Regions from separate parts of the Homo sapiens genome. Here regions 1, 2, 3, 4, 5 and 6 are each linked to region 7. The links are contacts of gene promoters, found by promoter capture Hi-C in blood cells and fetal thymus (Javierre and others, 2016). All regions are on one chromosome and are shown on one strand. The core of a region is centred on a gene start or on the middle of the fragment in contact, and the rest is flanking DNA. Distances in the headings are between cores, read along the strand shown.

What was found. Contacts are between HindIII fragments. The CHiCAGO score rates a contact against its expected background, and 5 or more counts as called.
Region 1: a fragment that was not itself captured here is called in contact with the fragment with the promoter of NUDCD2 in region 7 in 2 of 17 cell types (total CD4 T cells and naive CD4 T cells); the score reaches 6.1 in total CD4 T cells.
Region 2: the fragment with the promoter of GALNT10 here is called in contact with the fragment with the promoter of NUDCD2 in region 7 in 1 of 17 cell types (total CD4 T cells); the score reaches 8.9 in total CD4 T cells.
Region 3: a fragment that was not itself captured here is called in contact with the fragment with the promoter of NUDCD2 in region 7 in 2 of 17 cell types (total CD4 T cells and activated CD4 T cells); the score reaches 8.4 in total CD4 T cells.
Region 4: a contact is called between the fragment with the promoter of MED7 here and the fragment with the promoter of NUDCD2 in region 7, in 3 of 17 cell types (naive CD8 T cells, naive CD4 T cells and erythroblasts). The highest score is 12.4, in naive CD8 T cells.
Region 5: a contact is called between the fragment with the promoter of NPM1 here and the fragment with the promoter of NUDCD2 in region 7, in 2 of 17 cell types (activated CD4 T cells and naive CD4 T cells). The highest score is 6.6, in activated CD4 T cells.
Region 6: a contact is called between the fragment with the promoter of FGF18 here and the fragment with the promoter of NUDCD2 in region 7, in 1 of 17 cell types (naive CD8 T cells). The highest score is 5.6, in naive CD8 T cells.

The regions. Positions count from the first base shown.
Region 1 is chr5:154,757,023-154,761,316 of GRCh38, reverse strand. The region is part of intron 1 of LARP1 (La ribonucleoprotein 1, translational regulator); the gene reads right to left. Among named protein-coding and RNA genes, the nearest start is that of LARP1, 3.8 kb to the right of the region's middle. RefSeq lists enhancers at 115-224, 3,883-3,942 and a silencer at 3,061-3,250. The HindIII fragment of the contact is 2,588 bases long and covers 1-2,585 here.
Region 2 is chr5:154,189,055-154,193,067 of GRCh38, reverse strand. It overlaps GALNT10 (polypeptide N-acetylgalactosaminyltransferase 10), which reads right to left and starts at 2,335. Exons shown (of 12, transcript NM_198321.4): 1 at 2,043-2,335. The coding sequence starts at 2,201. LOC124901118 (a long non-coding RNA gene) reads left to right here and starts at 2,989. Exons shown (of 2, transcript XR_007059010.1): 1 at 2,989-3,072. RefSeq lists silencers at 2,040-2,099, 2,170-2,249, 2,340-2,449, 2,460-2,559, 2,650-2,739 and an enhancer at 2,960-3,925. The HindIII fragment of the contact is 10,101 bases long and covers 1,429-4,013 here.
Region 3 is chr5:170,326,020-170,330,208 of GRCh38, reverse strand. No RefSeq gene overlaps it. Among named protein-coding and RNA genes, the nearest start is that of LINC01366, 3.3 kb to the left of the region's middle. RefSeq lists an enhancer at 2,280-2,379. The HindIII fragment of the contact is 1,877 bases long and covers 942-2,818 here.
Region 4 is chr5:157,141,414-157,145,447 of GRCh38, reverse strand. MED7 (mediator complex subunit 7) reads left to right here and starts at 2,583. Exons shown (of 2, transcript NM_004270.5): 1 at 2,583-2,628. RefSeq lists enhancers at 1,956-2,055, 2,866-2,915. The HindIII fragment of the contact is 9,177 bases long and covers 1-4,034 here.
Region 5 is chr5:171,386,248-171,390,319 of GRCh38, reverse strand. NPM1 (nucleophosmin 1) reads right to left here and starts at 2,471. Exons shown (of 11, transcript NM_002520.7): 1 at 2,314-2,471; 2 at 190-269. The coding sequence starts at 2,371. MIR3912 (microRNA 3912) reads left to right here and starts at 3,560; the gene lies at 3,560-3,664. RefSeq lists silencers at 1,751-1,810, 2,131-2,190. The HindIII fragment of the contact is 7,200 bases long and covers 1-3,689 here.
Region 6 is chr5:171,417,350-171,421,193 of GRCh38, reverse strand. It overlaps FGF18 (fibroblast growth factor 18), which reads right to left and starts at 1,547. Exons shown (of 5, transcript NM_003862.3): 1 at 963-1,547; 2 at 751-787. The coding sequence starts at 994. RefSeq lists silencers at 1,041-1,120, 1,181-1,230, 1,371-1,480, 1,601-1,710. The HindIII fragment of the contact is 2,658 bases long and covers 325-2,982 here.
Region 7 is chr5:163,458,444-163,462,247 of GRCh38, reverse strand. It overlaps NUDCD2 (NudC domain containing 2), which reads left to right and starts at 2,146. Exons shown (of 4, transcript NM_145266.6): 1 at 2,146-2,386. The coding sequence starts at 2,198. HMMR (hyaluronan mediated motility receptor) reads right to left here and starts at 1,616. Exons shown (of 18, transcript NM_001142556.2): 1 at 1,510-1,616. The coding sequence starts at 1,555. RefSeq lists enhancers at 1,370-1,429, 2,180-2,429 and a silencer at 1,760-1,849. The HindIII fragment of the contact is 3,644 bases long and covers 1-2,875 here.

The sequences.
Region 1 (4,294 bases), core at 42-2,541, 8.7 Mb after region 7:
GACTACCCTCTACCTCCCAAAGGGCCAAAAACCACTTCCTAAAAACCTTCCCCTACCTGGCAGGCACTCACTTCCGGGTTAGTATGAAACTCAAACTACCTGTGCAAAAGGAAAGGGGCCAGGCCAGCTGAAGGCTCCCGATGAAAGCTGCCTCCCACTCTCCCCTTCAAAGGGTGTCCTAATTGTGACCTTTCCTTAGAAGAAGAGAAAGTGATTCACACTATATTGCTTCTTGGCCTTTTGGCTAAGATCAAGTGCACAATAGGAAAAAGCCTTAAGTCTTATGTAATAGACTAACCTAACAGTTCTTAGGTGGGGGTGCACAATATATCCAGTTACACAGTTAAAAACAATCATAATACCATTATCACCCCTGACAAAATAAGATAATTTCTTAACTTAGTCAATTTCCTCAGTTGTCATCAAAATGTCTTTGGACATTTGGTCAAGAATCAAGATCCAAACAAGATCCACAACAATGCACGACTGATGTCTCAACTTTCTTCATCTGTAACAGTTCTTCCCTTTAAAAAATGCCATTTATTTATTGGAAATAGTGTGTCTTGTAGAATTTCTCACATTTAGAAACTGAATAACTGCCTACCTCATGGCTAATTAGTCTGTTCCTGTAGCCCCATTTCCCTATAAACTGGCAGTTGGATCTATGGTTCTGTTAGATTTAGGTTCAGTTTTTATTTGGTGGAGGAAATTTTCAGGCAGTGCTGTGTGCTTTCAGACACTGTAAGGCACATAATGTCTGGCTGCTCCATTATACACCCCCAAGCCATCGACTTAGGCTCCTGAAGCCAGAAGAGTTTCTCCAGCCTCCAGAGAGCTTGGATTCCTAATCACAACGCAAATACAAAGCTACACATATATAAAGCTCTACTTTGGTTTCTTTCTTTTGTGGGGAGGGAGTTTTAGAAAAAAATTTTTGATACTAGAAAAATTTTAAGACATTTAGACCTAGTCTAATACCCTGATTTTACAGACGAAGAAACAGGCACAGAGAAAGCAAAGCGTTTGCCGGTGTCCACATTGCTGGTCATGAGCAGGATCAGAAGTAGCTCCTAGGGCCGGGCGCGGTGGCTCACGCCTGTAATCCCAACCCAAAACTTTGGGAGGCCAAGGCAGGTGGATCACCTGAGGTCGGGAGTTTGAGACCAGCCTGACCAACATGGAGAAACCCCGTTCTACTAAAAATACAAAATTAGCCGGGCATGGTGGCACATGCCTGTAATCCCAGCTACTCTCAAGGCTGAGGCAGGAGAATCGCTTGAACCCGGGAGGTGGAGGTTGCAGTGGGCCGAGATCACACCACTGCACTCCAATCTGGGCGACAGAGCCAGACTGTCTCCAAAAAAACAAACAAACAAACAAACAAACAAACAAACAAACTTAGCCCAGCCTATCTTAAATGCACTCAGAACACTTATATTAGCCTACGGATGGCCATAGCATCTAACATAAAGCCTATTTTAAGCGTTTAATGTCTCATGTAATTAATTTATTGAATACTGTACTGAAAGTGAAAAACCATGGTTGTATGGGTACCTGAAGTACAGTTTCCAATAAATGTGTATCACTTTCCCAACAACATAAAGTCAAAAAATCATAAATTGAACCATCATAAGTTGGGGACTATCTGTACTCTCAAGTCTCACGGCACTACATGTGCACCAGCCACAGCAAACTTTCAGTCCAGTTAGGCTGGCTTTTCCTCATATCCCTGAGAGCACACGTGCAACTCCCCCCAAAGAAAATCTTTACAAAAGGCAAACTAAAAAGTTAAAACTTATTTTTTTAAAATTCATCTCACCACATTCCAAAGCAAAAAATAGCTAATTCTTAAGAGTCAGCAACCTTTAAATTATCCATCCATGCCCTTCATGTCTGTGGATAAGCAAAAGTCAAGTTTTAAGGAGACAGATCCCATACATTTCACGGAGTACTTATATAACACAAGAAAAGGAAAGATCTGCATTCACCAACCCCATCATATTACAGGTAGAGAAAACCAGAGACCCAGGGAAAAGTCCCACCAAGACCCAGAGTAAGTAACAATGTCTACCTGCCAGGCACTGGGCTAAATACACTTATCATAACAATGAATGCTGGTAATACCCCCATGAGGCAGGTGAATCATAAATACCTATTACACAAATTAAGAAGGTGAGGCATAGAATGGTTAAATAACTTGCCCAAGGAAGCACAGCTAACAAGTGGTACAGTGGCATTTGAACCCACTCAGTTTGACCCCAGAATATTCGCTATGTATCATCTCTTAACTTAGACGTCTTGGATCTTATACTTAAAAGGGGTATGGCTAGGATAAGACAAAAATTTTAAACATTTAAAAATACTCTGGGGAGGGAGGGAGATCTAAAAAACCAAAATGCAAATCCCAAGACTTAAAACTACAAATGTAAGACTTGGACGCTTAAACCAGAATACAGAACCCCACAAGAAAGTAGAGATATCACGAAACATATTTTATTACTAGTTACTGCATGTGTCCCTTAAAGAACTAAAACACCAACATTTGAGCCAAAAGTAAGGCTAAAAATAGGCATTTACAGCAAGCTTTGGAAAGCTTTTAGTTTGCTTATGAGGTACTCATTTCTGTAGACTCCCAAAAACATGTGCATCACAGAACACAAAAATTCCCAAGACCACACAGCCACTCCACTAGTGTCACGTTTAAATTTGTCGAAGCTGTAAATAAAACCAGGGCTGGAAAAGCACTTCAGAGATCCACGTAGGCTCCAGAGAAAGGGTCATCATCTAGCCTTACCAGACTGACAACCCAATCATAGAATTCTCTCTCAAAATGCACACAAACCCTAACAACAGGCTTAGAGAGAGAAGCTACTGGATTAACTTGAGTTAGGCTGTCAAAACCTATTCCAAAGGTTCTAAACCAACAAGTAGACACTCTCTTGCCTTAAGATTCCAAAAAACAATAACAGAGCAAATCTACCCTTACTCAGAATTTTGCTTTGGGCACTTAAAGCAAGTCAGCTTCTCCACTCAGAGGAAAAGGTGAGATGCCAGCCAAGCTGTCTTCTTCCCACGATCAATAACCCCAGTGACGCACACTATCAAGGGCTCCTGGACTTACACAAAATGCCAGCTCAGGCACCCAATACCACCTGATGTCACGGTTGATTTAAAACCCACAAGGTAGGTTCACCATTAGCCAAGCCAGGATGAGTAGCCCCATTTAAAAGGAGTGCTCTCTCCCGGGGATGATTATACCCTTTTGAGTTTAAAGAGGGGAGAAGGACCAAAGAGTGTTTTAAAGTTGTTTTCCTTCACTCTGTGGGTGGATAGGAGGGACTGAAAGAAAACGGAGGTTTCAGCACTGTCTTTTGCATAAAAGGGCTCTGGAAGGGAAAGGGGGGAAGGGGAGGAGGGGGGAAGGGGAGGAAGGGGGAAGGGGAGGAGGGGGGAAGGGGAGCAGGGGGGAAGGGGAGCAGGGGGGAAGGGGAGCAGGGGGGAAGGGGAGCAGGGGGGAAGGGGAGCAGGGGGGAAGGAAGAGAACACAGTATGAAGGACTGTTAGTAAACCCCAAATGTCCCCTCCTCCAAATGAAGCAACCTGAAAAGAAATAAAAATTGCAACATGCTGTTTTCAGGACTGGCTATTCTGGCTTCCCTAGGACTAGCAGTGCTTCTACTCCTTTGACGGTGAAGACATTAAGCTCCCCCTTTATTTTTGATGGTTTAAACCAGTTAGCCTCAACCAGCTACGGCAGGTGAGTTTTTTAAAAGCACCAGGGCTACGACCAGAGGCCATCATTCCAACTGCAAGACAATTTTAAAACCGACCCACCACAAACGGACCCAAAACCAAAGAATGGAGACCCGCCCTATACGCCGGCCGAGAGAGGAGAGTGGGCGCGCCCCCCCCACCCAAGCCGACGATCTATTCTCGGCAAAGGCAATGCAAGAGCAGACTCCATATTCTGCACCGCCTCTCCCCCCACGCTGACACGGCTCTGCTGGGATTTCCTGCACCCCTTACCTCCCCCCGGAAAGGGGCACGGTCCAAAAGGACCAAAACGCGGAGGAGGGAGAGGGAGGACTCGCGGAGCGCCGGTCGGCAGTCACATGCCGCTCCCCGCGCGGGGAGGCACCACGTTGTCCCGGCTGCAGAGGAATGCTGGGAAGGGGGGACGCGCACACACCCGCGCCGCGCACACGCACACTCGGGCCGCGCCGCGGGCCCGCACCCTCCTGCCACCCCCAGCGCCGCGGCCCGCACCGAACGCCGAGGCCGAGCGGCCCGCGGG
Region 2 (4,013 bases), core at 1,086-3,585, 9.3 Mb after region 7:
CTGTCTATCCATTTCAGTTAGGGGCTCTGAGCAGCACCCAGCTGTTGCTCCCCTCTCTCTCCCTGCCCAAAAGTCTGCCTTACTCTATCAATACCCTCTTGCACAAGTGAGTAATTTACTTTGAAAGCTCAGGCCAAACTGGCAGTTAACCTTGACCTTCTCTACCCATCTGGGTCTACAGAAATGAAAATCAGGATGTCTTTGGCATCTATTGCAAATGAAATACGAGGTCTTTCTCCAAGCAGAGGCAGAATGTCAAGCACTATTTTAGAATGGGCTACAGCTATTCTAAAGGAGAGTTTGCACTAGGGTAGGACACTCCCCCTTGACCTGGAGCTGTGTCCAGTATGGAGCCTCCACAGCTAGGGATGCTACAAGGAACTCTGGACTCAAGACAGAAAAAAAGAAGGGACCGTTGTATTCCTCATTGATTAACTGATAGTATCACAGAATGTTAGAACTGGACCAATAATCATGGTTTACAGACCAAGAAAGTAAGGCTCAGAAAAGGAGATGAAAGGTGATCAAGGACACACACAGTAAGTTAGTGGTAGAGCTGAGGTCAGAACCCTGGAACTCCTGACTCTGATGCTGGTACTGAATAGGAACAGAGGAAAGAGATTTCATGAACGGAAAATCCATACAGATACAGAATTTCAGGGAGAGAGGTCTAAGCTAGCTGTCAGGGTTTGAACCAGGGGTTTAGGAAAGAGATGGAAACCTTAGTTTCTAAACAGTAAGCTCTACCAGAAAGATCAATGAGACCCTCTGGGATGCTTTGCAGCAATTAACAGAGTTACAGGCGGAGCTCAAATTGGTCAGCTCTGTAGCAAAGAGCCCTCTGTGCTCCAGATGCCAGACTGCCTAGACAGCAGCCTGATACTGGGAAGAATAAGGAAAACCATCAATCTCAGAAAAGCCAGCCTCTTTCGTCGAGGCCAGCCAACAGTCAGTCAAGTCTGACCCTGATACACAAATTATCCACTTCTCATGGGACCAGAGAAATCCCGTAAGAAAGCCTGAAATGTTCCACTATATGAAACAGTCTAAGCAATACACTCACTAGCACCTCCTGGGAGGGTGGGAGTGATGTGACAGAGCTTCTGCTATGAGGGAGCTGCTAGTCTAAATGCGTGCACGCACACATACACACAAACATACGTGGGTAAGTTCAAAGGAGGCAGAAACCATTCCGATCCCAGTTTTGGCTGCAATAAACACTACAACTAACCAGACTAGACAAGTTCAGAAGAGATAGGGAAGGCTTCTGGTGTTCCATCCTCAGGACACTGGGCACCAATAGCCTCTGGGACATTTTGGGGGTCCCCCCACCAGAGCCCCACCTCTGGACTCCCATAAGGTCAAAGGCAGCAGGTCCCTCAAGGACCAGGAGCTTACCCCCTTCTCCACCCCCAGGGGCTTGAAGCTTTAAAGGGAGCATGATCTTTACATTCTGCAAGGAATCCACAGGATCTGAGAAAGGAAAAGGCTAGAGTTGGGGCGGGGGTGTTGAATAAATGGGGAGAGGAGGAAGGCCCGGGTGTCTCGTTGGGCAGATGAGAAATCAGGAAAAGGGCTGACCTGAGCAAAGAACACTGGGATCAGCAGGTAGGGGTTGTGGGGGGGGGGGGGTGGGAGGAGGGAAGCAGAGAGGACCTGGACACCAAATAGAAGAACCAGAATCTTCATTCCTATTGGCACAAGGCAGGAGTCATCCTGGGATACAGGGATGCAGATAGGATCCTTCAAAAGAGATCCGCTGGAAGACGTCAAGGAATACCAGACGGGGACAGAAAGGAAGGTGGTAACATGTGGTGAGAAATAGCGTCCTGAGTGCTAGTTCGGACTCAGTCTCTGACTGGCGTGGGACCCTGGACAAGTCCCGACAGGACTTAATTTTCCCATCCGGAAAATGGGAAGAGCTGAAGAGTCTCGGAGCTGACTCTGAGGAGGCAGACAGCAGAAGGTGGAGGAAGGAACCACAGGCTAAAAGTGAATTCGGGAAGGGGGTGTTCCCGGCCTGTAGCAACGGGGGGACTCACCTGTCCCGCCGCCGGCGCCACCGCCGCCCCCGATCCCCCAGGGGTGCCGTCGGGCTGCCGCTCGCGGTACAGCGCCCAAAGCCCCACGTTGGGCAGGAGGACCAGGGCCGCCAGCACCAGCGCCACCGCCTGCAGGAGCCGCTTCTCCTTCCGCCTCATCGGGGCCGGTCAGCCCCGCCGCGCCCCGCCGGCCCCGCCGCGCCGCCCCCAGCTCCGCGCGTCCGCCCGTCCGCCCGGCGGCGGCAGCAGCTCAGCCAGCAGAAGCGGCTGCGGCGCCGGCCCCGCTCCAACTCCGCGGCACTTCCGCCGCTCGCCGGCCGGGGAGCTGGGCGCCGCCACCACGCCGCCGCCACGAGGGGGTCGTCGCCGCCGCCACCGCCCCCGGGCCCCGCCGAGCCGCCCGCCCCGCGCCGCCTGCCCCCGCGTCGACCGCCGAGTCTCTGCGCTGCAGGCTCGGCCCTCTCACGGAGCGTCTCGGCCCGCCCGGGCGCTGCAGGATGCCGGGCCGGAGCGCTTCCCCCCTCTCGAGCCGCGATGGTCCGTCCCACTCCTCGGCGGCTCCCCCGCCCTCTGGAGCTTTGCGAAAGTCCCGGAGTTGGCGAGTTGGGCGCTAACTGGTGCGGGCTGGGCACCGCTGGGTGGGGTGCATGTCCGCTCGCCCGGGTACCCTGCCGCCCCGCCCGGCAACCTCCGCCCGGGACTGCAGCCGAACCTTTGCTGCCTCCCTGGGGATATGCAAATAGTGCTGGGGCCCCGCCGGGCGTTCTGAGCCTGGAGCCCCCGGGGCTGTCACTTCCAGCCCACCTAGGCTCGGCCCCCAGGACCTGCGGACCTACTTTGACCCCGGCGACTCGGTGTTCCCGGCCATGAAACGGGGCCACAGCCGTGCTGCACGCTCACTGTTCCGCGGGCGGGCCCTGGTTTTCTTCCTCTAGGGGGGCCCTGGCGTTAGGTGTGAACGCCCTCTGCAAACTGTAGGGAGCTGTGCCCGGCCGCCGCCCGTCTGTAGATCCTGCAAACCGGCGGGTGGGTAAGTGACGGTAGCCTCTCTGCAGCACCTTTCCTCACGCAAGTCCAACCCCCTTGGAGTTAGAATGCCCTGCATTCTCACGCGTGCTTTTGGATCCTAAGCGCACTGAGCCCTTCCCGGAAAGCTCTCAGCAAACCGTTGGCGAGCGCCACTATGTGCCAAACACTGTGCCAGGCTCTGGGATGAAATGAAAACAGACCTGAGCCCTGACGTCTGGGAGCTGAAACATGAAACACGTAATTTCACTAGACCAGGCAATGTGTCTGTAACTGTGGCGAGGGCTTTGACAGAGGAGTCGGGCTTCTGGGCGATGCGGAGGGCCGTGGAGCCGGACTCCGACGGTGATGCCAGCCAGCGGCTCCTCCTCGGGGCGCTCGACGCTGGTCACTTAGCTGCCTCCTCCCTGATGCGGTGGAACGGAGCACCCCCTTGGCTACCTTACTCTCTGCCACCCCCACATTCGTCCTCTTGATTCTCTGCTTCTCTAGCTCAGCCGCTGACCTTCGTGCCTAGCTGCCACTAGTCCTTGACCAGCGTTCTGGCAACTCTTGCCTCCAAGTTCTTCCAGCTCCAGGCTGAGCGATGGGGATTCAGTTTTCTGACATCACAGCTCAGTTCTTGATTTCTGCAGCAAAACCTTCAAGGCTTCCATCACCTCGGCTCTAGAGTCCATCATGCTCCTCTCCTATGACCTGCTAGGGCTGATCAAACGTTCTGTCTCCTGCCGTGCCCTGCCCTGCCCTGCCCTGAGCTTCGCTTAGCCTGTTGCAGGCTTTGTGTTTTCCTTCTTGTGCTGTTGACCACGCAGCTCCTTCTACCCATAAAACCCCCTTCTCTAGGTCGGTGGAAATCTTGTTCATCCTTCCGTGTCTAGTTAAACTGCCACCTCCTCCACGAAGCCTTCTAAAACTCCTCCTCAGGGAACTGTTTTCTTTCTTTAG
Region 3 (4,189 bases), core at 631-3,130, 6.9 Mb before region 7:
TTTGGGACTCATCACAAAGGCCACCTTCTTGTAAGGTGACCTGACCATTCCTTTTAAAGTAGTACCCTCTGGGATATTGCTCTGTTAATTTACTTTACAGTACTTCTCACTCACCTACTTTGTTTATTTCCGTAGTCTGTGACCCCCTACCCACCCCTCACTGACCCTGCAACAGACACTAGAATGTAGGGCTAGTGAGAGCAGAGGCCTCTTCTTTCTTGTTCTTCTCTATATCCAAAGAGTCTGGAGAAATGGCTGGGACATTGAGGACATTCAGAAATATTTGTTGGATGGATAGGTGGGTGGGTAGATGGATGGATAAACAGGTGGGTGAGTAGACGGATGAGTGAGTGGGTAGATGGACAGGTGGATGGGTAGATGGATGAGTAGATGGATGGATGGACGGATGGGTAGGTAAATGAATAAAATGGTAGATGGATGGACAGGTGGGTGGGTAGATGGATGAGTAGATGGTTAAATGGACAAGTGGGTAGGTAGATGGATGAAAGAGTAGATGGATGGTTGGATGGGTGAGTAGGTAGATGGATTAGTGAGTAGATAGATGAATGGATGGATGGGTAGATGGATGGATGGATGAAGATGAATGAGTTGGTGAATGTACGTATGTATGAATGTATGGTGTCTACTATATGGCAGGTTCCAGTGAGGATGTAGAGATGAATAAAATGATGTCTCTTTGATCCAAATGTTTGCTTTGAAATGAGGGAGACCTTCTCAATAGTCAAGTAGTTGCATCAAAGTATATTAGGTGTTCTGAGGGAATATCAGATCTCAAAAGCACATTTGGGATAGAAATGAGGAAGGGATCCATTTTTGCTGCTGGAGGGTGATCAGAAAATGCTCTATATGGGAGATAACACTGTATCTGATCCACGAAGGATAAGTGGTTATTATTCAGGTAATCAATGAATTTAAAAGCTTCCCTGCAGCCTAGGAAAAGGGAAAGAAGCTGAACACAGTCTTAGAGTCTAAAAACTGCAAGCTATTTGGTGTGATGGGACAAGAGGTGTGAAAGATCTGGTCTTGATTGCTACTGCATATTCAGTGTTTAGCATTCAATTACCCTACTATTGGCACTTCATAATAGTACTCAAGAATAGGTCCTCAATAATTATTTGTTGAAGAAAGGAACAAAAGGAGAGCACAGGGAAAAGTAAAGCTGGCAAGATTGACCTGTGCTGGGTACTGCTGGGCTAAGGAATGTAGATGCTAGTCAGAGGAAAATGGACCATCACAGAAGGGTTGATGAGATGCATGTTTCTGATGGTCACCCTGCTAAGCACAGGAACTGTGTTGGGGAAAGTCCAGGAAGTGGCAGGAATAGACAGAGTGGACTATGGCTATGGTCCGAGTGTGGGATGTTGAGGACCTGAGCTAATCAGGATAGTGTACGTGAAAAGGTAAAGAGGGATTCTAGAGACTTGAGGAAGGTAGAACTAGAGTGCTATCCATGGTTCCATATGGATGAAGAAGGGAAGAGGGAGGGAATATAAAGAGAAGAATTTTCCATGCCCCTGCTGGAATGACTAGATGCTAGCCACTGGAATACAAAATGTATGGGGTGGGGTTCACCATGAAGCTAATGAAGGTTATGTGCGAGAATCCCTCCCTTTCACATCCACTATCAAGGTCCTAAACCTACTCTTGTATTCATTGTTTTCTTTTTATTTATTTTTTCCTAAAGAGCCCCTTCCTGGCCAATTATAGAATCCTCAGGCTCCACCAAGCCTGGATCTTCCCCTGGAAATACAAGGAGAACAGTTTGGGGGAAAGGATTCCATTTGGATTGTGAATTCCATTTGGGGCATGGTAGGTTAGAGGTGGATGAAAAACCTTGAGGTGGAGATGTTCTGCAAGGAGCACAGTGTGGGACAGGGCTTGAATCCTGGCTTCATGCTGTGTGGACATGGGCAAGTTGTTTGAGCTCTGTGCTCAGTAAAATGGGATGTTAATGATAGTACACCCTGATAGGGTTGTAAAGATTAGATGAGACAACATAGGTCAAATGCTTAGAACAGTGCCTAGCACATAGTGAGTGTTGAAAACAAGTTGCGTGTTGGCTTTTGGTATTCTGTGGGGCAGTGTATATCTGAGAGTCACTGGAGTTGAGGGTGGCCTTGGGGGGAGTTGGATTGTGTAGCAAGAGTGTATTAGGGCTTGATATGAGGAAGACCAAGGACAGAGCTCTGATATTTATCAGGGTGAGCAGAGGAAGAGGAACCAGCAAAGGAGGCTGACGAGGACTAGCCAAAGGGGTCCTGGAAGCCAGGGGAGGGGAGAATACCAAGCAGACACTCAGTCATGGGTGTCACCTGCTGCTAAAAGTCTAGCAAGAAGGTGACCACAAGAGGCTGCTGGCATGGGTTTTGGGGACATCTCAGTGACCTTGTCAGAGGGCTCTCGGTGGAGAGTTGGGTACTGAGGAATGAAAGTCCCATGCAGACGACAGGTGTAGATGGTCTTCTGCAGAACCTTGGCTTTGGGAAAAGACAGGAGGCAAGAGGCAGAGGAGAACAGAGGCAGAGAGAAGGTGTTAGGGTGGTTGATTTGTTTTGCTTTGGGAGGACATGATTCACTGTTTAAAGATGAGATTCACAGGCTTTGGGGGCTGTGATGAAGAGTTGGTGTGTAAAGTTTAACAATTTGAGGAAGAAATAAAATAATTGATTAAAAAAAAAGTGAATGCCTTGAAAGAATTAGGAAGGGGAGGAACAAGTGACACAATAAGTGGCCAACCCTGAACTGCTCTCTGAGTCTCGAAGGAAGGGGGCAAGGGTGGGAAGGTTATAAATAAGCTTCTAGGTAGGAGGACAGGAAATGGGGCAGTTATGCCTGATAGCCTCAGGTTTGTTGCTGTGAAGTAGGAGGATAGATCATCTGCAGAAACATAAATACACAGCTTCTCCCACACCGTGGGCACTTAGGACAAATTATGATTACGAAACTTAAAATCTCAAGGGAATATTAGGGTTAGAGGAACCCGAGTTGATGGTAAAGTTATTAATATCCCTACAAATTGTTTTACTTCGATTAATATAAAGCAGTGAACAAAGCATACCGAGTAAAAACAACCTCAGAGGCAATTTGCACATCTTTGTTAGTGCTCTACCGTTAATTTTAATTTGCAAACCTTTGTTTGCTTGTAGGTGCTTGAAGCATTTCAGGATCTTCCTACCCTGAAGTTTCAACTTACAAATAAATGCTAGCTAATAAATAAAGTTATGAATCATTTCAAACTTACAATGAAGTTGAAAGAATCTTACGATTAACACCAATATACACACAACCTTGGTTCAACCATTAATGTTTTACTAAGCTTGTTTATTTAAATAAACCTTTTAACTACAAAAAGGAAAATTACAAAAGTACAGAGTTCCCATATACTTCCTAGCCTGTTTCCCTTATTATTAAAATCTTATATTAGTATGATACATTTGTAATAACTAATTAACTAATATTGGTGTGTTATTAACTAAAATCCATACTTTAAGTGGTGCGATCTCAGCTCACTGCAACCTCCGCCTCCCAGGTTAAAGCAATTCTTCTGCCTCTGCCTCCTGAGTAGCTGGGATTACAGGCACATGCCACCAGGCCTGGCTAATTTTTTGTATTTTTAGTAGAGACAGGATTTCACCATGTTGGCCAGGGTGGTCTTCAACTCCTGACCTTGGAGGTGTACTTACAAGGTATTTCATAGAATGTCCCTCAGTTGGGATTTGTCTGATGATTTTCTGGCAATTACACTGTGGATGTGGATTTTTAGAAGAAAGACCGCAGAGGTAAAGTGCTTTTCTCATCTCATATCAAGGATACACACTGTCCACATGTCATCGCTCTTGTTGACCTTGATCACCTGGCTGAGGTAGTGCTGGTCAGGTTCTCCACTGTGAAGTTACACTTTTTCCTTCCTTTCCATGTGTACTTTTTGAAAGGAAGTTACTAGGTGCATCCCACAGTTCAAAAAACTTAATGAGGAATTACGCGTCACCTCCTTGAGGGTGTAAATTTGTATTTTTTTTAATCACGTATCTATCCATCAATTAGCTATTCCTTTACCCATCCATCAATTCATCTTACTTTTTTAGACGTTTAAAAATAAGTTTGCAGATTTATATTATTTTGTTGCAGGCAACACATATGCTAAGGCACTTTGTTTCTGCGCCTCATC
Region 4 (4,034 bases), core at 1,334-3,833, 6.3 Mb after region 7:
CCCTTCTCATGATATGGACTTCATATCCATTATTCATTTGAAGTTTATTGGAAAGAACACTAGATTGATAGTCAAGAGTCCAAGATTCTAGCCTTGATTCTGCTACTAACTGTTAAGACACTGCCCCTTTGGGCCCAGTAATTCTATTTCTAGAAATTTATTTCAAAGAACAAAATTGGACACATGCACAAACATATATGTACTGGGATCTCATCATCCTGTGTAGTTACACTGGATCAAATTTGGAGAAAAATAATTTAACACAATGAGGATCTGGCTAAAGAGACTGTGGTATAACCACCAAAGCCACGCTATGAATTTATTTGAAAGTGATGATTGTATTCATTTTGTTTCTTATTCAATAAACACTTATTGAGTATTTGCCAATTTCAGGCACCGTTGTATGTAGGTTCAAACACAACAGCAGTAAATGAAACAAAGGTCCCATGCTCATAAACCTGATATTTTTGATGGATAAGAAAGGCAATAAAATACATAAATATACTATGTAAGATGATTTCAGATGATGAGAGGTTCTATGAAAAAAAGATAATACATAGTAAGGGTTTCAGGGGCATCTCCCAAGAGAAAGATTAGGGATGCGCTATTTTGCATAGAGTAGTGTAACCCCAGAAGAACTCTTTGAAGTCACATTTGACCAGAAACCTGAATGAATTGAGGAAATGAAGCCGGGCGCGGTGGCTCACGCCTATAATCCCAGCACTTTGGGAGGCCGAGGCGGGCGGATCACGAGGTCAGGAGATTCAGACCATCCTGGCTAACACGGTGAAACCCCGTCTCTACTAAAAATACAAAAAAATTAGCTGGGCGTGATGGCGTGTGCCTCTAGTCCCAGCTGCTGGGGAGGCTGAGGCAGGAGAATGGCGTGAACCTGGGAGGTGGAGCTTGCAGTGAGCCGAGATTGGGCCACTGCACTCCAGCCTGGGTGACAGAGCAAGACTTCGTCTCAAAAAAAAAAAAAAAAAAAAAAAAAAAAAAAAGGAAAGAAGGAAATGAGACGTGTCAATATCTGTGCAAAGAGTTCCAGGCAAATGCATTGGCCCCAAGGCCGGGATGTACTTGGCAATTTTGTAGGGCCTGTGATATAGGCCAGGGGAAGGATGTCAGATTTTATTCTAAAAGTCATAGAAAGCCTTGGAGGATTTTGAATAGAGGAGTGATAAGACCGGTCTTATATTTTAAGAAGGTGTGGTAAATAGACTAAGGGAGGACAAAAAATCAAAGAAGTCCAGGTGAGAGATAATGGTGGCATGGCATAGGACCATAGCAGTGGGAACGGTGGTCAGTCATATTTGGAACTTTATTTACTTATTTTTAAATAGATCTAATGCAAAAGGCTGGTATGGTAGTTTCGGTGGGGTATGTGAGAAAGGAGAAAAAGGTGATTCCTTCGATTGAACATTTGCAATTGAGTAAAGTGCAACTGGGGAAAGATGTCTGTCACCACTGGATATGAGGGTCTGAAGTGCAGAGGAAACGGTGTTCCAGGGCCTGCATGTAATCATCCAGCTGATATCTGACTGAGAAGTGGTTGGAGAACTGAGTCCTGGGGCAATCCATTAATCAAATGTGCCAAATGCTGCTGACAGATGGAGTAAAATGAGGACTGGGAACGACCATTGGAAGTCACTGGTGCAGGATACATTGGGGTCAGCGGTGAGGAGAAAAGCTGGATTGGGTTATGCTCAACGTAGATGGATTTCTTCAGGAAATAAATTGATACGTGCGAGGGATTTAAAATGGGGGAGTCCGGAAGTGGTGGTTCACGCCTACAATCCCAGCACTTTGGGTGGCCGAGGCGGGCGGATCACTTCATATCAAGAGCTCGAGATGAGCCTCGCCAACACGGTGAAACCCTGTCTCTACCAAAAATACAAAAAAAAGAAAAAAAAATAGGTGAAACCCCAACTATTCGGGAGGCTGAGGCACGAGAATCGCTTGAATCCCGGAGACTGAAGTTGCAGCGAGCCGAAATCGCGCCACTGCAGTCCAGCCTGGGCGAAAGAGAAAGACTCCGTCTCAAAGAAAAAAACAACAAAAAAACCCTGCATGTCTATATTTTCGAATTTGTATGTAAGACGTCTTAATTGTATGCGTTAAATTAAAAAAGGACAAAAGGAATGGAACTACCAGCAGCGACTAAGTCAGTAAAAGAGTGGTAATGGGGAAGGGGGTGGAATATACGCAGGCGCAATAGCAAGCGTTTCTTTTGGAGGTTATTTTCGTGTCATAAATTTCTAAATTCACGTTAAGTCTTACAAGAGCATGTTAAACATTAAAACATAAGATTGTTTCTGGTCAATAAGGGGTCTATAAAAAATAAAGCAATAAGGTGTCTTGTTCAATTTTATGCCTTAATTCAAAAAGAAACGAAGAAACGGAACCCTCAGCTACGACTTTTAAAAGTCAGTAACGGGTGGATGGGAGGAGTCAAACATACGTAGGCGCAACAGCGAGGGATCGGTCTGAGGCGGAGCTAGAATTTCGTTAAAGGACAGCTCTTACAGCCAATCAAGGACAGAGTCGGTGGCTTCTTCCCGGAGGAGACCGGAAGTTGGTTTCGGCTGCAGAGGGGAAGGCGGCTACCAGTGTAAAGCCAGAGCTGAGGTAAGTGGGCGGCAACGGTTTGGGGCCGCCGCCTGTGTGCGTTTTTTTCTTCCGGACCCCGCAGCTTCCTCTGTGCTGGGCTGGGAACTGGGGAGGCATGGCTGAGTTCGGCCTCCAAAGGCGGTCTTTCGTCTTTCTCTCCCGAGTCTCTCCGAGAGTGCGGTCTCTCCGAGAGCGCGGAGGCCTCGGGGTGGACAGCCTGGAGGAGGGGGCTCTAAGCGTGGCAGTCTCGGGGCTTCCTCCGTGTTGGGACGCCGAGCCGGAGTGGAGGTTGGGAGACCTGGCGTCTAGTCCCCGCGCCGCTGTTTTTCTAAGCTGTGTGGCCTTGGGCGAGTCATTTGCCCTCTCCGGCTCTTTGTAACATGAGAGTAGCCCTCCCTGCCCTTCCTTCTTCTGGGAGCAGTTATGAAACAGCTGAGGTATGGGGGCAGGCGAGGGCGGTAGATCCCAAGCCTAATCGTCAGGTCCATCTGGAGAGGTTTTAAAAGCGACATTCTAGGGCCCATTCACAGTAGACAGAATGAATCAAATCTCTGGGGCTGGGACCCTGGAATGTCTGTCGTCTTCTGGTGAAGCTCCTTCTCCCCCAGTAGAACAAACACTAGATGTTGGATCTTGAGTTAAGAACCAGCTCTGATGCTTGGCTCTGCTTTTATTAAAAATAAGACCTCCATCACCTTTGAAAAGTTCCATCTAGAGAGACAGTAGAGAAAGAAATATAATTTTTGTGATATGCCAGTCCTTATTGTACAGTTAGATGCTTCTCGGCTTAGGGATATAAGAGAGCTTGCCCTTTGGAGCTAAAGGGACCTGGGATAAGAATTCCTGTTGTGCCATTTATTAACCTTTTGATCTGGGGCAACACTTCCCCTCATTGAGACTTCGGATCCTCACTTCTAAAATGAAATTGATAATAGAACTTAATTCGTGGGACCGTGTGGTGGCTCACGCCTGTAATCCCAGCACTTTGGGAGGCCGAGGTGGGCGGATCACTTGAGGTCAGGAGTTCCAGACCAGCCTGGCCAACATGGTGAAAACCTGTCTTTACCGAGAAATACAAAAATTAGCTGGGCGTGGTGGTGCGCACCTGTAGTCCCCAGCTACTCAGGAGGCTCAGGCAGGAGAATCCCTTGAACCCGGGAGGCAGAGGTTGCAGTGAGCCCTGATGGTACCACTGCACTCCAGCCTGGGAGACAGATTGAGCCCTTGTCTCAAAAAACAAAACTAACAACAAAAACCCCAAAAACCTTAATTCATAGAATTGTTAATGAAGATTATGTTACAGAGGCCATAAAAAATGGTACCTGTCATGTAGTTGGCCTTAGGAAAATGGCAGCCGCAATACAGGAATGCACATCGTGTAGGAAAGTACAGAGCAGCACTCCTCACCTAAAAAGGTTTGAGTG
Region 5 (4,072 bases), core at 1,222-3,721, 7.9 Mb before region 7:
CCAAATGAGTGGTATAGATGCCAAGTTCTTCAAAGATGTACAGACAGTGAGGTACACACAATACCCAGGTGTAAGAAATAGTATTTTATAAGCAGTCAGCAAAGGAAAAAAAGTCTCAAGCCACATGAATAGAAACTAAAAGGCTGAAATCAAGTAGGGTTAAGTAGTTTATTTTGAAAGTTTAAGTACCGTTCTTAAAGATAACTGGTGCTCATTTTCATCATTATCCACCTTAAAGTGATAATCTTTGTCGGCCTTTAGTTCACAACCTGTAAATGAAGAAAAAAGCAACTCTAACAAGGAGAAAAATAACACTGAAACTTAAGTGTGGGTAACCAAAAAGGTCAGGTCTAACTTTTGAACTAGTTTTTCACTATTTTAGCTACCAGAGGGCAAAGCAGAATGATCAATTCCTAGATTTCTTGAACAGAAACCTCTACAGACACCCATAAAAGACTATAATTCCATTCTCTCATCATACCATATTTCATCTCTAACTACGCTGATAGGTACTGTTATTCTGCATAAACAAGCTCAATGGTTTAGTAAATCTCAACCTGAAGCAATTATCTGAAACCAAATGTAATGTCCAATGTTAAGTTTCCCACTATTTAAAACAGCTGATTTACCTACCTAAATTCCCAAATGGCAATTTCGAAATGAGAACGGTTACAAACATGAATAGCTTACTATTACAAAAGAAAAATGACAAAAGTAAAAGAACCGAAGTTTGCTACAGGGATCAACACTCCACTCTTTAAAGCAACAGAAAGTGACATACGCCTCAAACTATATTCAGAAATTATGTTTAAGACAAGGAGGGTTCTTTCCGATAGTTATCAAAAAGTACTGATATAAATTTACCAGAATTCTCAGCTATCCAAAATAACTAGGAATTAAAGCCTTAATGTTTTGAATACATATGTCTACTCTCACTCCATGAATGGGCAAAATTCTTCAAAACACTGTCAGAATAAAAATTTTAAATGATTCCATTTAACTATCATCTAACCGTTACCAATACATATACATGCTTAAATGTGAACAGACGTTTAATTAACAAATCTCAGCACGGATAATGAACAAGATAAAATTCACGGTAGGATTTGCATTTACTTCAAAGTCTGAATAGTACAAAGATTAGGCTTCTGCAATTAATCCTACTGAGATCAAAAACCCAAGTGGGACTCTCCTTTTTGGGGCAGGACTACCGCAAGTCGAGGGGGGTGGTGCTCCCAAAATTCTGCGAATAGTCTTAGGTCTTGATCTGACTCAAACCGAACACTCTACGTGTTTCTTGTATTTAGAAAAGCAGTTTGGTCAATGCCGCACAAATGGCGGCATGCGAGGACGTCCCCCTAAAACGAAGCCTCATTAATATTCACGAAGCAGCAGCTACGGAGTCAAGCGTCTTGGTTTAGATTTAGTCTCTTATTGCCTTTACTAAGTACAACCTTCGTTAAGTGAGTTTATCTCTGGGCACCAGTATCCTCATCTGCAAAGTGGGGCTAGCTCCACCTACCGCAGTGAGACAGAAAAGGGGCTCAAAAAAATGAGAGCTGCCATCACAGTACATGCTGTAAGCACTGAACAAAGACCTCCAGAACCCTAGTGCTACCAGCCTCTTAACATTTCCCACTTCAACAGAGCCACAGCATCCCTGGCTCACGAGTGGCAACACGCCGGTGAGTCCCGGATGTAGCGCCCACACCCCCCTCCCTCCCCCAACCACGTGGCAACCACGTGCTCCCAGCGGTTGCGGCCTCCTCACGCCGCGCCGCGCCTCCCCACCCCCAGTAACTGGCCGAAGCACGCGAGGTAAGTCTACGTCCGGCAGCTCCAGGCTCTGAGGCCAGAATAACGCCAGGCTGTGCATCTACCCGCTCCAACAAGCAGGCCCATGCTTCCCGGTGAACCCAGCCTCCAGGACCACCAACCCGGGGCCTGGCATCAGAAGCCTATGAACCACCGCCGTTAGAAAATAAACCACGCCTGGAGCTCCGCCACGTATCCCCGGCAAAGGCCGAACTTCCAGGCGGCCGGTTCCACTTTACCTCAGGCCCCGGGCCTCGGACCGCTCACGCCCCAGACGCTTCAGGCCGCTCGTCTCCTCCCCCTTCACGCCACCGGCTCCCCCCGCGGCTCCAATCCCTCCAGGTCCAGGGCTCAGGCAGCTCTTCCCACCCGCTCAGGCCTCCCGTCGGTCTGGCGGTCTCCACCAGACCCGGTTGCAGCCGGATTCCCGCCCCTCACCCCCACCCTCACCGCCACCAGGCCCCGCTCGGCCTCGCTCCAGCTCCCCCCAGCAGTTACCGAAAAGATAGTTCTGGGGCCTCAGGGGGCTCATGTCCATGTCCATCGAATCTTCCATCGGGTGGCGGCACGCACTTAGGTAGGAGAGAAGGCGGACGGAGATAAAAGAACGCTGCTCCAGAGAACAACCGCGCAGGACGGAATCACACCAGGGAAAGGACGCAGGCTCCCCGCGCTTATATATAGACCCTGAAGATCTCGCGAGCGCTTCCCAAGTCCCGCCTCCGCGCGCGTGCTCCGAAGCCCTCCCACCCCCGTACCGTAGCCGTCCTGCGCAAGCGCTTTTCAACCCCACTCCTTTCTACCTCGCCCCCACCTCCTTCCAGGTACTCCGCGGGCTCCCACCGAGCACGCGCACTCGTACACTGGCCCCACCCCTCCGCTGCTGTCGCCTGTGCGCACGCGTGCTTTCCAGTCGTAACGCGCACTCCCCACCTCCAACCCTTCCACGTCCTCTCCCGCTCAAGCGCGCCGGCCTCCCGCCAAGAGTCTGCGCAGCCCACCCTGCAAAATGGCGTCGGCAGCCCTTAGCTGTGTAAGATATGGCGGGTTAGCCGGCTGCGAATGAGCCAGAGAGCACCTCGATTCACCTTTCCCCATCCCCTAGTGCCCTGCAAGCCTCCAAACAGGCGTAATCACTTCAGGAATTTTTTACTTGCCTGAAGGCTTCGGATCGCAGTTAATCGTTACCCCAAAGTTCAGGTGCCAGAGAGAGTGAATTGCGGCTTATTCTTTGTTAGGAAGGAAAGATGTAGTTACCGGCCAGACTTACGGAACTTTGTTTTTCAGCTCTGTCCTTCCTGAGAAAACATCTCCAAAGTCCTTATCTTTACGTAACTTGGGGGCCAAAAGGGGACTGAATCAGTCTCCAAATTAGCAAGGACATCGCCCTAAGAGAGCTCGGAGGGTGGGCCGACTCTGACTTCTTGCCGCTCTTAATCTTTAACATTCCTCCTGAAAGAAAGCGGGTGACTTGTAAGAACTACAGAAGCCTTAATTCGAATATTTGGGAGCGAGCATGGGAATTAACGTTTTAAGCTACACCTTGACAAACTCCGAGGCACCCCAGCACCCCGCGGGCATTGGGGCGTTCTGAAGACCCGTAATCTTTTTTTTTTAAGCCTCAACATATCAAACAAATTTAAGAAGTGAGGAATACAAATGATAGCCTCAGAAAGGAAGACACCCCCACCCCAAGGCATTATTTCTTACAGGAAAATTATAGAGACGATTTCAGTGTCTATCAAGAGAGGAATGAACAGTTAAATTATAACATGTCCATATTATGGGTTAGTTGTGGACACATACTAACGCATAATATGGACATGTTATAATTTAACTGTTCCTTTCTGAGAGCTCCTGTGTCACATAAAGCTTTGAGTCACTTAAATTTGTTATGCCTTTTTTTGTGTGTGTGTGGAGACAGAGTCTCGCTGTGTTGTCCAGGCTGGAGTGCAGTGGCGTGATCTCCGCTGGATGCAACCTCCGCCTCCCGGGCTCCCGAGTAGCGAGGACTACAGGTGCATGCCACCACGCCCGACTAATTTTTGTATTTTAGGAGGGATGGGGTTTCGCTGTGTTCTCCAGGCTGGGCTCAAACTCCTGACCTCGGGTGATCCGCCTGTCTCTGCCTTCCAAAGTGCTGGGATTTCAGGCGTGAGCCACCGCACCCAGCCAGCATTTTTTTTTTTTTTAAACGGGGTCTCGCTCTCTTGCCCAGGCTGCAGTGCAGTGGCAAGATCTCTGACTCACGAGTTCT
Region 6 (3,844 bases), core at 298-2,797, 8.0 Mb before region 7:
TGCGTGCCAAGACCTTCCCGAGTCTGAAAGCTGCTGAAGTAACAGATCAGATTTTAGCAAGTGCTTTCCAGGCCGAGCGCCAAGCCCTCTTCTGATTCACGGAGAGCGAGCGAACCGGGAGCAGGCGGGGAACCAACGAGGGCTGCACCACCTTAGGCGAGGGAGTGCGGAGCGCGGCCCATCCGGGAGCGGCCTCGCGGGCAGCGGCCACTCGGCCTAGGCGCCCTCGAGCTTCCCCTCGTCCCGGGCATGTGTGTGTGTCTGTGTGTGTGTCTCAGTGCTGCAAGCGCCTTCAAAACCACAGAGTAATTTACAACTGAAGCTTTCTCCCTGGACTCGAAATCCACTCGGCTGAAAGTCTTTTTGTTTGGAAGCGGCGATGTTAAGGGAAGGTTGGCAGAGAAAATCCCTAGGTCCTACCCCTCGCTGGCTGCGGGCAGGGGTCTTAGAGCTGGGTATATTGTTGCGGCTGAGCCCGCCGGCTCTGCGGGATCTCCTCCCAGCCGAGGCCGACAGTGGCCGCGACAGCCAGCGCCTCCTCGGGCCCCGCGGCAGAGCCCCTTGCCCTTGGCCGGTTCCCCGCCGGCGCAGGGCGCACGCGGAGCCGCCCTTCCGCGCCCTGGGAACAGGTGCACTGGGCTCAGCGCCCAGGAGGGGTGGGGCACAGGGAGGGGGCGCGGCCGGGGAAGGGGGGTCGGCGTGTACCGCGAGGCAGGGGCGGGAGGAGGTCAAAGTCAGGAGCCCACGTACCTGTACCTGGAAGCACAGCAGCAGGAAGTGTAAACACCTGCGGGAAACAGATGGAGAAGCGGTCAGTGGGACCTGAGGAAGGGGGCGCACGGACAGACAGACACGCAGTCGAAGAGTCAGGTGAACCGACGGGCGGGCAGACAGAGGTACAGGGCACAGGCATACGGACAGACAGCCAGGCAAGGTGGGCAGCCCCGCGCGCGGGCGCTTACAGGCAAGTGCAGGCGGAGGGCGCTGAATACATCGCTGGGCGGGAGGGAGGCGGCGGCTCCTAGCCCAGCCTGCACATGTCCGCTCCGCGCGGCCGGGACCGGGCGCCTCCGCCGCCGCCGCCGCCGCCGCCGCCGCTGCTGCTGCTCCCTCCTCGCCGGCTGCTGCTGCTGCAGACTCTGCTGCTCCGGGGCGCTCCGCGGCGCGCCCTGCGGCATCAGCGCCCCGCGCGGCTCCTCCCGAGCGCTGCGCCCTCCGGGCTGGCGCAGGGGCTGCGGGGCGGCAGCCGCTGTGCAGGAGGCGCCTGGCCGGTGCGGGGAAGCTCGCTCACTGCTGGCCGGCCGGCCGTCCGGGCGTCCGTGGGAGGCTGGCTGCCCGGCTCAGTCCGGGGACAGCATGCGCGGCGGGTCTGGAAGCCGAGTTGCGCTCTCCGGCCCGGGCGCGGAGCTGCGTGGGGCCAGGGGTCAGCGCTCCGGGGTCGGGGCGCGCGGCTGCAGCGCGAAAGCGTCACGGCCGCTCCGTCTGGGCGCCCGCCGGCTCATGTCTCCTCCTCCGCGTCTCTCCGGCCGTGCGCATCGCCGCCTCCCACCACTGGCGGCGGCCGGGGCGTTTTCTACGCGCGGGCGGCGAGGGGGCGGGGGGCCGGGGGCGGGCCCGGGCCCGAGCCGGCACAATGAGGATGCGGGGCCTGGGGGCTCCCCCCTCGGGGCGCGGCCGGACGGGCGCTCAGCTCGCCTGGGTGCGCCCAGCCCACATCAAAGGCGGCCCTGCCTGCTCGCCTGCCTGCCGCGGCCTCTCGCTGCCTCCTCCTCCTTCTCCTGGCGGCTCGGGGTTGGAGGGGAGGCGCTCAGACTCTCGGAGACGGGACCGGCAGCTCCAAAGGGGCAGGACCCGCGAGACTGAAGCTGGTGAGCGCTGGAAGCCGTCGGAGCTCTGCGCCCGAGCGCAGTGACCGCTCCTCCGCGCAAACGTTGCCCAAATTGGGCAGGCGATGCTCCCCAAGAACGCAGTTAGGTACGGAACGTCCTCACCTGCCCACATTCGCTACTCGCACTCACTCACCAGCGCTCTAGTGGAGAGCCGAGAGGGGCGGGTCAAACCCAGCCCCGGGGCGGCTCCACTGAATGGGGGTCGCTTTTACCCGCCCTGCGATCGTGGAGTTTCCCAGCCACCCTCTTGACTGGCTACCCACTTAAGTGAGCCCCCGTCCTCTTCTTACGTCCCTGCCGCTGCGAAGGGGGCTCCCGGGCATCTCTCCTTCCCACCCCTCGCCCCCTCCGGGGCTCTGGGGTCGGTTCACGGGATCCCAGCTGGACTCTCCCGTAGGCGAGCCAGCTTTGGAAACACACGGCTACCACCAAGCGGCCCCGAGACGTCACTGCAACCCCAGCACGGACGGCTGCACGCCGGGGAGCAGCCAGCAGGACTCTGGTCAGCGACCACGCTGAGGCCCTCTTCCGGCCTCCTCCCAAAACCGGACTAAGACTTGCCTCCGTTTGCATACTAGGCAGCTTCGTTCCTTTAACCAGGGCCCCATTCAGGACACTGGTTCTTACCGCCTCTGCCCCTTCCAGAGGCATAACTCCTGTCCTTCCCACCAACCCCAAAACGTAGGTGTTCTTGTCACGTACCTGCCTCACTGTCTAGAGCTGGTGTCAGCCAAGCTCTGCTTGAGCCTGATGCTAAGGAAAATAGGTCACAGTGAGAAAGACGCTGGAGGACAGGCTCAAGCAAAACTCAGGAATCTGGACTATTTGGTTAAAGCCTCCTTGCGTTGGCAATGGTTGATGGTCCACTGGAGCATAAACTGAGGTAGGACTGTCGAACAGTGCTATTTGCTGAAGCCATGACTATAAAACATTAGTAATTGTTCCAAATATCAGGCCTCCTTGCAAGCTATTTTAAGTTCCCTTTCAAAGCTGAGGCTATTTTAAACAGATAGCCTCTGTTTCAACATCGGACACAAGTGCAGAAAACCTTTTCAAAACCAGGTGCTGAGGGGGAAAATTCCTGCATGAAGCTTTTAAGCTGAATTTACTTAGACATTCTGATTGCCAGAGCTGGACTTGCAGAGTTACTCGTAACTTCCCAAGTTCTGGAGAAAATGAATCGATCCCAAGATAGGATGCAATGACCAACCATAAATAGAAATGGACAGAAATGCTCCCACCGATGACCCGAGTCATTGCCGCCGTCTTTGATCTTGCTTTATAGGAAGATTGACAAACCCAGTCGAGGAGTTTTTGGCTTACCATCTGCTAGTTTGAAGTATCTCCTGGCTAAGAATCATGCTTCCAATTTTCTATATTGTTACTATTTTTTATTACTTGTGAATGGAATGGGTATATAATTATTTATACCCTATCTAAAATGCTTGCAGTATTTTTCAATGCTCAAAGTATATTTGCCAATCTCACCTACCAAACAAATCAGACTGACCAAAAAGTCCAGCCAAGAGAACAGTTCTGAGTAAGAGCATAAACTCAGGAGTCAGAAGTACTGCATTTGAATACTGCCACCAACATTTACTTATAAATTCCAGCAAGCAACGGTTTGAGATTCTGCTTCCTCCTCTACAAAATATGGCTAAGAACAGTAACAACTCTCACAGAGTTGTGAGTACTCAATGAGTGTCTGGCACACAATGAAAACTCCAAACGTTTTAGCTGCTAACTAATAATCCTAATTATTATTCAGGTTACTTTCAGGTTATTTTCACATTTCTTTCTGAACAATTTCATGAAGTAGGGAGGCAGGATCATTTCCAATTTACAGTTGAAGAGGCATCTAGTCAGAATGTCTTTTGACTCCAAATCCATTTTATACTACACATTCTTTTCCCCACCACTCACACCCTCTAGTTTCATGCACCTATTTACCAACA
Region 7 (3,804 bases), core at 897-3,396:
AGCCTGAAATACTATATCTTTGATAAAGCCAGTTTAACCTACTATAATGCAAACAACAAAAAAACCAAAAAAACCTTAAAGCCACACTGCTGACAAAACTTAAGAGTAGGTCCTTTGATTACTCGGGAAATCATATGGTCCTTGAGTCTTTTAACTAAGAAAATAAGTTTGTGCTGATTCACTTGCTCATTTGGCCTTCCTTTGTGAGTAGTTGTATTTTCATTCACACGTTGGCTGACAAAACTTAGAGACGTAATGAGTAACCACGAAATAGTGTATGATAGTGAATAAATCATGAGCTTTAATATTTAGCTCTACCACTTACTGATTGTGCAAGATACAAAACCTCTGTTTTCTCATCTGTAAAATGAGGTCAATATCAGTACCTTCCTCACTTGGCTTTTGGAAGGAATAAACAAGATCTAGTAGCACAGTCCCAGCATACAGCATTTTTTTTTTTTCTGTAAGACAGAGTCTTGCTCTGTCGCCCAGGCTGGAGTGCAGTGGCGCGATCTCGGCTCATCGCAAGCTCCGCCTCCCGGGTTCACGCCATTCTCCTGCCTCAGCCTGTAGTCAGCTGGGACTACAGGCGCCCGCCACCGCGCCTGGCTAATTTTTTTTGTATTTTTAGTACAGACGGGGTTTCACGGTGGTCTCGATCTCCTGACCTCGTGATCCACCTGCCTCGGCCTCCCAAAGTGCTGGGATTACAGGCGTGAGCCGCCGCGCCCGGCCGCATACAGCATCTTAAATGATGAGTGCCTACCAAACACAGCTAAGGCTTCCTGGTTACTGTGCTGTGCATTGCGGTGTTAAGAGCACACGATGGGGGCTGGGTTCATATTCCAGTCCGGTCACTTTGGTAATGTAGCACTGAGCAAATTTAAGTCTCAGTCTTTTTATCAATAAAATAATAATAGGATTACCCCTTAGAGTTGGTGGGAAATTAACATAACTAATAATCGATGTAAAGCCTTAGTACGGTGCTTGAGGTATAAGTGGTCAATATCAGCCATAACTTCATTGTTTATGTTTTCAATAAGTGCTGCTGCTCTAATTTTACACCCATAAACTGCCTTTACTAATCTTCCTTCTTTTATGCCCAAATGGAATACACAAAAGAAATGCACAAGTTCAGACTACAAGTAATACTCCAGTGTTCTTATCAGTGAGGCCCTCTCGGACTTGAAAATCAAGTAGCTACCAACGTCTCGGGTCCATTCCCTTCGCCCTGCTGTAGTTTCTCCATTACCGCTGTTTATTGACAGTATTCCCCGCCTGAATGTAAGCCCCACGGGGCGGAGACTGTTTCACTGCGGTATCCTTAGCATCCTGATTAGTGCTTGGCATGTAACAGATGCTTAGAGCATATTTGAGAAAAATCAATCAACTGAATGAGCCCCAGCCCGACCCTAAAATCGCCTCCTGCTTGCCTCCCAAGAAGGGAGCTGAAAGAGGCAAAGGGCGTTAGGGCGTCTCCCGTCCCCCAGCTCTTTCCCCCTTACGCACCAGAAGGGTCATTGAATCGTTTCAAGGGCGCCTTAGGAAAGGACATGTTGACGGCCAGCTCCAGAAACTGAAGGTGACTGGCACTCCTCGACAACTGAATGCGGATTATCACTCCCTACCGGTTTCAAATTCAAATCTCCCCACATTCCCCACCCACCCCGGCGTTAGCCAATTGGAAAGCCAAACCCCTGGGCACACCAATCCCGCACAGGAACACGAAGAAAGAATGCTGGGTTCTGATTGCGTCCAATTAGCTGGCCTGCGAGTTTAGGCTGCCATCCAATAGGAGACCGTTACTGTTCCCCGCCCCACCCACCCAGTCATTCCCGGAGTTACTCAAGTGTAACCTAGCATTTGCGCAAGCGCACTTCCCTCCGGAGACGTTAGAAAGTGCATTTTGGCGTCACTTAGGGGACGGTGTAGTGAGTTCCGGCTTCACTGGTTCCAATTCTGTCCCATTGTTCGTTGCATGTGAACTTTTCTGGATTTCAGTTCTTTCATCCGGGGCCTGCCGGTGCCGTAAACGGCCATTCAAAGGGAAAAACGAACACGCACACCAAAGCGCTAGCTTGCGTTCCTGCGCATGCGCAGTGACCCGAGCGGAGAGGCCGAGGCGTAGCCTAAGCGTGGGATTCCGCGCGTGCGCTCGGCTCCGCCTGGTGCGGCCGCGGCCGGGAGGGACTGGATTATGTCGGCCCCGTTTGAGGAGCGGAGTGGGGTGGTACCGTGCGGGACCCCGTGGGGCCAGTGGTACCAGACCTTGGAGGAGGTGTTCATTGAAGTTCAGGTGCCGCCAGGCACGCGCGCCCAGGATATCCAGTGCGGCCTCCAGAGCCGGCATGTGGCGCTGTCGGTGGGCGGCCGCGAGATCCTCAAGGTAGCGGCAGCTCGGGGCTTGTGTTCAGTTTCCTCTTCCCAGACGCCCCCAGCCCCGTTTCCCTGAACGACTGTTGGGTGTCCCGACGGCTCCTGTGGCTGGCAGAAAGAGAAAGAGGATAACACTGACCAGGTTTGGGTCTGGTCAGAGCCCCCGCCTCTTCAGGGCAGGTGCTGAGTTGTGGAAATTTGAGGAGCCTATTTTCGTGTTTAGTTTTCAAACTAAGACTGCTGCTTCTGCTTCTCTGACGGGCTTCAGCTGGGAACAGATTAACTAGGTTGCTAAAGGAACAAATATTTCTTCCGTGCACTGAAGACAGGCAGGAAGACAACAGATAACGTACCTGCAGTGGAGAGGTTAAGCTCCTGTACGGAAGCGTAATTCATAAATAGATAAATATAGGAAAGGACAACAAAGAAAATAGGGATAGAATAACGGGCAGAGAATTTAGAGATGATGTCAGGTGATTAGTTTTCTCATCTAAAAGCTTGAAAATCCTGCATGTTTGTGGAGTGGTCAAGCAGGTGGTGAAGAGGTGTGTGCATAAAATAAGTAGTACTCCTTTTATTTCTTTTCACCAATGCTCTTTGGATCTGGACCCGCTTTTTCTTTGTTAAGTGTATAATTAAACTAACAGGTTGAAATTAGATTTAGTTCTCAGGTTAGATGCCCAAGATGTTTGATGGCAGTGTAATATGGTGAAGGGAGACTACTTGTTTCCTAGTTTTGTAAACTTGGGCGAGAGATTGTTCAGTGTCTCTATATCTTCCTTATCCACAAGATAAGGTAGTTATAGTACCCTTCTCATGGGATTGTTTTGAGCTTAACATGGTATTCACGTGTATGAAGAGCTTGGAGTATTCACTGGTATGTAATAAGTTCATACTATATGTTAGCTATTAGCTATTATATATATTACAGTATATGGAGGTGCTTTGAGTGCCTCAAGATTCGTGTGAAAGACATTATGTCAGCTTGGATCTCAGTTACTTTTCTGAATTGTACAATTCATAGTTTCCTCAACAATGGTTTTAGATTACGATTATAAATTAGTAAATCCAGTAACTTTCGGAATTTAGCAGTAGCTGCTGAATTTGGGATTTCTGATGTACGTATAGACCAGTGGGATTTTTTTCTCACTAATTTTGACATATTTTAAAATGTGGGCTTTTCCTAGTGACATTTAATTTCACTTTCTATAACTTAAATTTGGCAACAAATTAAAATGGATTTGAGTTTAGGCATTCTCTCTTTAAAAAAAAATATATATTTATTGAGACAGGGTCCCTGTCTCCCATGCTGGGGTGCAGGGGTGAGATTGTAGCTCACAGCAGCCTCAAACCCATGGGGTCAAGCAATCCACGTTGGCCTCCAAAGTCCTGGGATTACAGGCCTGAGCTACTGGGCCTGGTGCAGTC